Linked DNA regions of Homo sapiens: regions 1 and 2 are each linked to region 3. Evidence: promoter capture Hi-C in 16 types of primary human blood cells and fetal thymus (Javierre and others, 2016). All regions are on one chromosome and are shown on one strand. The core of a region is centred on a gene start or on the middle of the fragment in contact, and the rest is flanking DNA. Distances in the headings are between cores, read along the strand shown. Region 1 overlaps METTL15 (methyltransferase 15, mitochondrial 12S rRNA N4-cytidine). Region 2 overlaps KIF18A (kinesin family member 18A). Region 3 holds the start of LIN7C (lin-7 cell polarity scaffold C).

Region 1 (2,851 bases), core at 302-2,801, 610 kb after region 3:
TTATTCTAGAAGCTACTGTTTTTATCTAAATCAGTTATTTTTATATCTTTCTTCTTTTTCCAACATACTGCTTAGTGGTTAAGAGCAAAGATTCTGGAACTGGACTGCCTAGGTTCTAAGCTCTTGTCTAGGAAACATGTGCATGTGTGCACACACCCAGCTTTTCTTTTTTCTGAAACTTTTTCATGTTGGATCAGGCAGTTTTCATGAACTAAATTTAAGCTATATGTATAAGGTGTACTACAATGGCTAGATGTTGCTCATACAAAAGCCATCAGTGATACGATGTGGGTTCTTCATAAAAATATTATTTACCTTCTCCTCAGGCAGTATACACAGGCAAGTTTACACACAAAATAAATCCAGCATTCTTTAAAAAATTTTTTTTTAAATTTTAATTGTTCTAGAGAGAGTCTGTCTCTGTTGTTGAGGCTGAAGTATGGTGATGTGATCATAACTCACTGTAGTCTGGAACTCCTGGGCTCAGGTGATCCTTCCTGTCTCAGCTTCCTGAGTAGCTGGTCCTATGGGTGTGAGCTGCTGCACCCAGATAAACCCAGTATTCTTAAATGAATTTACGTGTATAAAGTATTTAGCTCAATGCTGTCATGTAGTGGGACTCCAAATATACATGAAAATGTAAATTAAAATATTAAATTGGATAAAACTTCTTGTTGAATGTGAGTGACTTCATCAAAATGAAATTCTCTTCGTGCTTTAAAAAGATCCATAATGCAGGGGTAACAATTAAAATCCATACATAAGTGTGAGTTTTAAAAAATGTATATTGAAATATATGTGATATTTGTTAGTGTGTGTATATATACATACATATATACACCTATATATGTATGTGTGTGTGTGTGTGTGTGTGTGTATATATATATATATATATATATATATATATATATATATATGAAAGGATAGGGGCAGTTAGTAAAAATTGGAACCAAATTCAGTGGCTTGAACTTGACTTCTGAAACTAAAAACCGAAGCACATTGTATTAGTTTATTAAACCCTAGTAACAAAGCCAAATGCTTATGTTGCACTAAGCCATGGAGTAGAAAAACAAACAAAAACAAATTGCACTACATCTTCTAGCAAATCAGTATTGTATCCAACTATTTTCTAAAACCAAGTGGAATAAAATTAGATAATTCTACAACTTGACCTACACTGCTGTTTCATTCTGTTCAAGTACCTACAAATGTAATGTTGGTTTATTTTGGCATTTTCCTTTTTCTGATTTGAGTTGGGTTTTCCAGTAACTTTTTATAAGAAGTTTAATGTTTCCAATGTTACTTCTAAAAACTTTCTTGTGAGGTACACTTAGAGACAATGTTATTTCTTACCTTTTCTGCTGTCTGGCAGACAGCTTTATTCACTATTCCCTTAATCTTCAAGTAATAAAGAACTGGTGACAGTCCTTGGACAGGAAAGGTCTTCATTTTGTCCATAATCCATTATTTGCTTCTCTTCTTCCTGAGCCTTTTCCCCAAAATCATTTTCCTTTTCAAACTATGAGTCATACACTCACTTGCATCAGTCACTTACTTACTTACTATTACCTTTTTCTGCATCACCTTCAATGATGAATTTACAGATGAAACTTTTTTTTGTTTTTTTGTTTTTTTTTGAGACGGAGTTTCGCTCTGTCGTCCAGGCTGGAGTACAGTGGCACAATCTCAGCTTACTGCAAGCTCCACCTCGCAGGTTCACTCCATTCTCCAGATGAAACTTTTGATGTAACAGGAACTTTAAAAAATATCTGAATGTATTTGAAGTGAGGTGCAAGGCATTTTATAGTTCTTTTTTCTTTAATACTTGAAAGGTGCTCACCTAAAGAAAATAGTGATTTTGGGAATTTCTTTAGCATCATAGCTAGTTTACTACCTATGTAGTTTACTACAGATTTGTTTTTCAAATACACTTAAAATATTTACTAGTTTTAATTATGAGAAAAATATCCTCTTTCTCTTGGAAGGTATTTAAAATTTTAATTGTTAAGGAGAAATTAAAGAAATTATAATTATTTCTCCCTGCTTAGTTTGCATCATTTCATATTCTAGGTGAATAACTTTTTGTGAAAATGTATTATCCTAAGAACTTTTTTTTTTCTCCTGGAGATATTTTAGTCTGGGCTAATAGATTAACTTTTTATTCTTGATTTCTGAAAACTGGAGAAAAAAAAGTTTGGTTATTTTCTAAATAGCTAAATTCTGCTTAGTTTAAGATGGTAGCAGTTTGGAGAGTATAGGAAACCTGATACTCTTGCCCCAGTAGTAGTGCTAATTTAGCTTGGTGCCTTGGGGCTTCTTTGAGTGTTATTATAAGGGTACAAGTACCCCACTAGTACAAGTAGCTGTGCAGTTTGGTCAATTAACTTTCCATGGTTGTGCCTCAGATTCCTTATCTGTAAAATAAGGAAAGAGAACCTATCTCACTCCTGGTTACTGTAAGGATTAGATGAGTTAATATACATAAATTGTTTAGAATTGTATCTTCCAAGTAGTTGAGCCCAATAAACATTAGCTGTTACTATGGGAATAGAAAGAGTCAAAGTTGTTAGCTAGATTAAAAAAGAAATTCAGGAGAAAAATGCAAGGGGAGAGCAAAGGTGGAACCAACCTGTCTGGAACTGAAAAAGTACTGTTTCCTCTTTCTGGAACTCTCCTCATCTTCATCCTTCAGGCCTGGAGTCAGGTTTTACCTTTTTATGGGAACTTTTCATGAGCCTCCACAGAAGACAGGTATCCCAATTATATATCATGTACTTTTCTTCATAGCAACTTAATAAGTCATAATTATAATTATGATGAGATTATTTGTTCAATATACACCTCTCTTAGT
Region 2 (2,939 bases), core at 236-2,735, 590 kb after region 3:
ATGAAGTTTCATGAAAGAGGAAAAGAATATCTTCTTAAAAATGGGAATCACAGTAGTACCAATCAATAAACCACACTCCATCCTTACTTGATCAAGAGGGTATGTCTTCCATGATAAAACTGAAATGAATCAGGAAAAGACAGTGAAACATGTTATAGTTGTGAGCTGTCTTGGGGAAAATATCATAAATACTAATAATTACAAAAATAAGATATTAATAATGGTGTTTAGTGCCTGGTAGGCACTGAAAAACTGGCCATTTTGCATCTTGGGTATCTCTCTCTCTCTCTCTCTTTTTTTTTTTTTAAAAAGGAAATCAACATGGCTTTCTTGAAAGGCCAAAAAAAGCACTAAAGATGCTTCTTGGGCTAACAATGAGCTAAAGGGCATGAGATAATTAACATGGGATCTTAACACTTTTACCCCCTTTCCAATTTTTATTTTAGGTTTGGGGGTACAGTGCAGGTTTGTTACATGGGTAAATTGCATGCTGCGGGGTTTAGTGTACAGATTTTTTCATCACTCAGGTAAGGAGTGTAGTACCCCATAGGTAGTTTTTTGATCCTCAGTCTCCTCCTATCCTTCGCCAACTTAAACATTTTTATTTCAATGTGCCATGAAGAAAAACTGCTGAAAAGAAACTGTCAAATGTTCAGAAATGTCTGACTACTCTCCAGGAATAGATAATTACATAGGTAAGCTGTAGGAAAAGTTATAAATACAGGTTATGAGAAAACTGATGTTAATTGCAATAAGCATGTGGTTTAATAACATAGGCAACTGAAAGGACAGATGTCTATAGGGGCCACAGTAAGGCCCTGGAAGAGAAAGGTTTACAAATGATGTATAAGTTATATATGATAACTAAAATTTCAAAGTCTATATTTACAGTTCAAGTCTATTGAATTTCTTAAGAATTTTTAGCATACAAGCTCCTTAAATTTGATTATATTTAGAAGGGTCAAGTAGATGTCCGTCCTAATGCAAAAGTGAAATCGGATAGAGAAATTAAATCCCAAATTGAAACAAATACCTGTGCAATTATATCCATTCAAAAAACTACGAAGAATTGGCTTAGTAGTGTGTTCAAAAACTTCTGACTGAGTTGACGTTTCATCAAAAACAGCATCAAATACAAATTTAAGATCCTTATTTTGTTTCTTTATAACATTTTGATTTGTAGTTTTCTTTCCATGGAAAAAACTGACTTCTTCTTGTTTGGGATCAAAAACTAGGATATGTTTATCCACAACATGAACCACTTTATGAAATCCAGCTGCTTTTTCTTTAGTGTTTTCCGGACGTACACGAACTACTACTTTCATATGGTGGCACAGGTCTTCCTCAGTGACAGACATTGTTGATTATCTTGATTCCTATCTGTATAAATACTTGAATACTTCTCTGAAATTAAAAAAGAAAATAAAGTTTTAATATCAGTTTTTACTTTCATGCAAAACAACTGGCATGTAGTATTCATTCAAAAAAGATGTTAATAATTCTGTTTCACTCACTAGGTAAACACTGGGGGAAAAATACATACATACGTAGGCACACACAACACACACACACAAATATATGCACACATACACACATATGCACTTAAGTACCCTAAAACAAACAATTAAATGGCACATACGTACACACAACTACGATAAAAATCTCTTTACCTGAAATATTAGTAGGATATTTGGCTTAAACTCAAATACTATAGCTGAACCATATATAATCACAGATATGCTATCCTAAAACCCAGATTTGATTTTCACAAGCCCTCCAGCACTATTTCAGCTTAGGTCATGGGAATGAATAGAAAAGGATCTCCCAGAACCATATCAAGGTATGATTGGAGAGCCTTAGCTTGTGAACTATTTTTAGTAAAAGTGATCTTGGCTGCAAGCCCCTTGGCCGTGGAAAGTGATACACCCAGGCTGGTCTCTACCTGTATCTCAGAAGCCCATAGGGTTAAAAATAGTTCCAAGGATGCATTCAACTAGATAGCTCAGGTCTGAAGGTGATAGAGATGGCATAGACTCCTTGGTGTATTCAGAGACCTAGTCTCTGAATATTGATCCTACTCTCTGCTTTCTAATTGTGTGCAAGTTTAAGGAATCAATGATAGCAGGTTTAAAAATTATGGTCTGATTTTATGACTGGTTCACATGCAAAGAAGAAAAGTAAAGTAACAAAGATCAATAATTTGGAAGTCTCAACTATCCAGAAAATACTCTAGAATCTGCAGACCCAAAAACCAAAACAAAAAAACAAACAACAACAACAACAAAAAGACAAAAAAAAACCAAACCACAAAACAAAATAAAACACCCCAAAACAACAAGATCTGAGTAAGGACCAAAAGGTGAGACTTAGGACGATCCTGCAATCCCACTTCTGAGTATATATCCAAAGGAATTAAAATCAGTATGTTGAAGAGATATTTGCCCTGCCATGTTCGCTACAACATTATTCACAATAACTAAGATATATAAACAATCTAAGTGCCTATCAACAGATAAATAGATCGAAAAAATGTGGTATATGCACTCAATGAAATACTATTCAGCCTTAAAAAAGACTAAAATTCTGTCATTTATGACGACATGAATGAATCTAGGGGGCATTATGCTAAGTAAAATAAGCCAGGTACAAAAAGACAAATATCACATGATCTCACTTTTATGCAGAATCTAAAAATATGAACACAGAGAAGTAGAGTAATGGTTACCAGAGGCTGAGGAGGGTGGGGTGGGTGGTAAAAGGGGAAATGTTGGTCAAAGGGTACAAAGTTTCAGTTATACAAGAGGAATAGTTTTGGTGATCTATTGCACAGCAAGGTGACCATGGTTAATTGCTAAGAGTACATTTTAAATGTTCTCACAACAAAAAAATGGTATGTGAGGTGATGGATATGTTAATTAATTAGCCTGATATGCTCATTC
Region 3 (3,203 bases), core at 187-2,686:
AAACAGCAACAACAAAAACACAAAAGACCAATACGTTAGAATCTTAACTAGCTTTCAAAGAAAAAACTTACTCCTGTTAACACCAAACAGATTTGCTCCCATCTATAAAACACAGTGCCACTGTGCTCAAGAGGAAGATGTCAGAGACTTAGGCCTAACTCGGCAAGTCTTCCCAGAGTAGCTAGTCCTCTAAAATGATGCTTTAATAGGCTTAACGGAAACAATCTCATTTACAGTGAGGCTTCCAAATGGTGAACACGGTAAAGAGCAAATCAGCAACATTAAGTGCACATTTGTTTGTGGGAAGGCATTAGGAAAGAGGTTTTTCTAAGTACAGTAATTCTAAAAATGTGTTTTCTTAGGGAACAATAGTAATATTTAGACTAATTGCAAATGTTAATATGTGCAATATAATTTCAGTCTCCATCCTACATATACATTTTTTTTTACCACCAGTACTCAAAATGTTTATTTGTACTTCTCAATTCCTATCAATGATTTCTAATGCTGGTGTATGAAAAGCATGCTTGAAATTGTTTGAAATAAAGGACTTAGGGACAGAGTGGAATGCTGGAAATCTGTAAAAGGACTGGAAACGCTGGAATGCTGGAAATCATGGTAGGCGCATAGCCAGTTATTTTCGTAGGCTTCTCTATCTCTAATTACTCAGCAGAGGTGGTTTTATTTTCCTTGACAGTCTGCTCTAGGAAGCAATCAGCCAACCAGTTTGCAATTGTAGGGTTTGTAAGAAATGAAAAACACTGCACCTGCAAGTGTTTTAGCATCTACCACTATTCGGCTTACTTACGTAACCTCCTTCCCAAGACCAAGTCAGTAGGATTGTTTTTAAAGCAACCTCTCCATTTCTAGGAGGGGCACAAAAGCTAGCAAATACCCCAACCCGAATACAAGCGAGGTTGTGGAGAAAGTAATGAAGGAGTTTGTGTGCAAACAGCGGGGAAAGGAGGTTCTGTTGAATTGTACCGTGTGTCCGTTCTCGTGCTGTACAGGCAATGAGTGTAGTCTGTGCGAACCGGGTGTGTGACGTTTGCTTTTCGGGTGTACGGGTCTCCGAATGCTGCTTCTGCTGTGCTCACCAAGGGAGCGCGTGTGCGGCGTGTGTCTGCGAAGCGGGCAGGTTGTGTTTAGTTGTGCTGTGCCTTGGAACAGTCCGTGTGAACAGAGGAGGGCTTACGGTTAACAGACAAAATACCGTAAGCGCCCTTCCTAGAGCCAGGCACAGAGACAACGGCGGCCTCTGGCGCCGGCACAAGGGACAGCGTGGCCCGGATCTCAGAGCCTGGGTCACTCCTCCTCCCCTCCAGCGACACAGCACTCCCCCAACCCTTCCGCCCACCTCCGCCGAGCCTCGGCTGCACTCACCTCTCTCCAGCCGCACGGGTTCCCCTAGCGCCGCCATCTTCTCCCTTAACCTACAGACCCACAGGAAATGACGACAGAAGGGCTGAGGTGGGGGGGCGGGGCCTAGGGGAAGCCGGAAAAGTGAGTACCGGCTAGTATCGCGAGATCAGGAAGGTGGCCGAGTGTGTCGCCGCGGCCATCAGGGTAAGGGTACCTGGACTTGCGGCTTTTTAGGTCGGCCTGGCTCCGCTCCTTCCGCGGTGACGAGGTCCCCCGGCCTCCTAGGGTTGGGAAGAGCTGCTTTCCTGACTCTCGTTCCCTGCCTCAGGCTTCCCTTATCCCAATCGCTTCGAACCCTTGGCTCAGCGTAGAGGAGTCAAGCCTGGATTCTAGTCCCACCTTGCCCATTAGCAGCTCTGTGACCTGGGACTGTTCACTTACCCTCTCTCAGCCTCAGTTTCCGCATCTGTACAACGAGAGGTCCTATCTCTTAGGTCCTTACAATTTTTAAACTCTGGGATTCGGTGGCAATTAAATGTGTAATGACATGTTGTCAGTTCTCAATTTGTGACAGCATTGCTTTAAATTTAAAAATCCACGGCTTGAATCTTCCCTCCAAATCTGTTAAGGGGTGGAAAGTACAAAGAGCATGAAACATATCTGGGTGAGGGAGAGAACAAGGTGCTTTGGTGCACCACAAAGTAACAATTTTATAAGCAGCTGATTCTTATAAAATCTTAAGTAAATGAAATATTGTGAAGCAAATAATATTCTTAATGCATTACAGATTTTTGAGCCACTTCTGAAATTTTCGCGAACCAAGAAGAATTTTAGTACTTGGATTTGACTAACATTTATCCAAGCCCTTAGTCTGTACTGATACTGTGGTAGGTGTGTTTACATCCAGCATTTCAACACTTCATGATGGGACTGTTTTAATAACCTGTTTGCCCCTGGTCCACCCTTTCCATTCACCTTTAGTATTTTCTTCTCCAAATCCATCATGGATGCCACCACTATGCTCCTTTTTCTCCCCTTGAATTCTGATTTCATCATCACAAGTTCTGTTCAGAAACTTTCAATGGTTTCTCTCCTGTTTCCTATTTCTAAAGCCTTGCATACTCTGACCCTAACTCATCCAACTAACTTCATTTCTCATTACCACTAAGTGCAACCACCACTTCAGTCCAGATAGTATAGTTTCAACCATATTTATTCCTGATTCCAAGTCTTTTTGTTTGTTTTAGAGACAGAGTTTCTCTCTGTTGTCCAGACTGGAGTGCAGTGGTGCAATCACAGCTCAAGAGAGCCTCCTGTCTCAGTCTTGCCAGTAGCGAGGACTACAGGCAAGCACCACCATGCCTGGCAAATTTTTAAATTTTTAGTAGAGATGGGGGTCTTGCTATGTTGCCCAGGCTGGTCTCAAACTCCTGAGCTCAAGCAGTCCTCCTGCTTTGGCCTCCCGAAGTGCTGGGATTACAGGCGTGGGCCACTGTGCCAGGCTCCAAATCTTCATTTGTGTTGTTCTTGTGTGGAATGCCCTTCTTCATCCCTTCCTAGTCTCCAAACTTTGTACACACTCAGTTGAACCCATTTCGTGGGTCCCTGCTGAAGGCATGCCACTTCTACCAAGCCTTTTCTCCATATTATTCCCCTTTTTTGTCCTCTGATGGCCTAAATACGTTGCAGTAACACTCAGGTGCTTATCTCTTACTCGTTGTCATTTTTTTTTGCTGCAAATGTGTTCAAGAAATGTTTATTAAACACCTAATATATACCAGGTGCCTTGATAGGAATACCAGGTAGAGCAAGACAAATGCAAACATTGCCCTTATTTCTTC

What was found. Contacts are between HindIII fragments. The CHiCAGO score rates a contact against its expected background, and 5 or more counts as called.
Region 1: a contact is called between a fragment that was not itself captured here and the fragment with the promoter of LIN7C in region 3, in 8 of 17 cell types (naive CD4 T cells, total B cells, non-activated CD4 T cells and 5 more). The highest score is 7.9, in naive CD4 T cells.
Region 2: a contact is called between a fragment that was not itself captured here and the fragment with the promoter of LIN7C in region 3, in 9 of 17 cell types (non-activated CD4 T cells, total CD4 T cells, activated CD4 T cells and 6 more). The highest score is 9.6, in non-activated CD4 T cells.

The regions. Positions count from the first base shown.
Region 1 is chr11:28,116,384-28,119,234 of GRCh38, forward strand. All of the region lies in intron 3 of METTL15 (methyltransferase 15, mitochondrial 12S rRNA N4-cytidine), which reads left to right. Among named protein-coding and RNA genes, the nearest start is that of METTL15, 9.4 kb to the left of the region's middle. The HindIII fragment of the contact is 7,760 bases long and covers 1-2,851 here.
Region 2 is chr11:28,096,590-28,099,528 of GRCh38, forward strand. KIF18A (kinesin family member 18A) reads right to left here. Exons shown (of 17, transcript NM_031217.4): 2 at 1,034-1,404. The coding sequence starts at 1,358. Among named protein-coding and RNA genes, the nearest start is that of KIF18A, 10 kb to the right of the region's middle. The HindIII fragment of the contact is 3,247 bases long and covers 1-2,939 here.
Region 3 is chr11:27,505,333-27,508,535 of GRCh38, forward strand. LIN7C (lin-7 cell polarity scaffold C) reads right to left here and starts at 1,437. Exons shown (of 5, transcript NM_018362.4): 1 at 1,384-1,437. The coding sequence starts at 1,420. It overlaps BDNF-AS (BDNF antisense RNA), which reads left to right and starts at 1,520. Exons shown (of 7, transcript NR_033315.1): 1 at 1,520-1,566. RefSeq lists enhancers at 998-2,197, 1,354-1,483, 1,554-1,843. The HindIII fragment of the contact is 9,378 bases long and covers 1-3,203 here.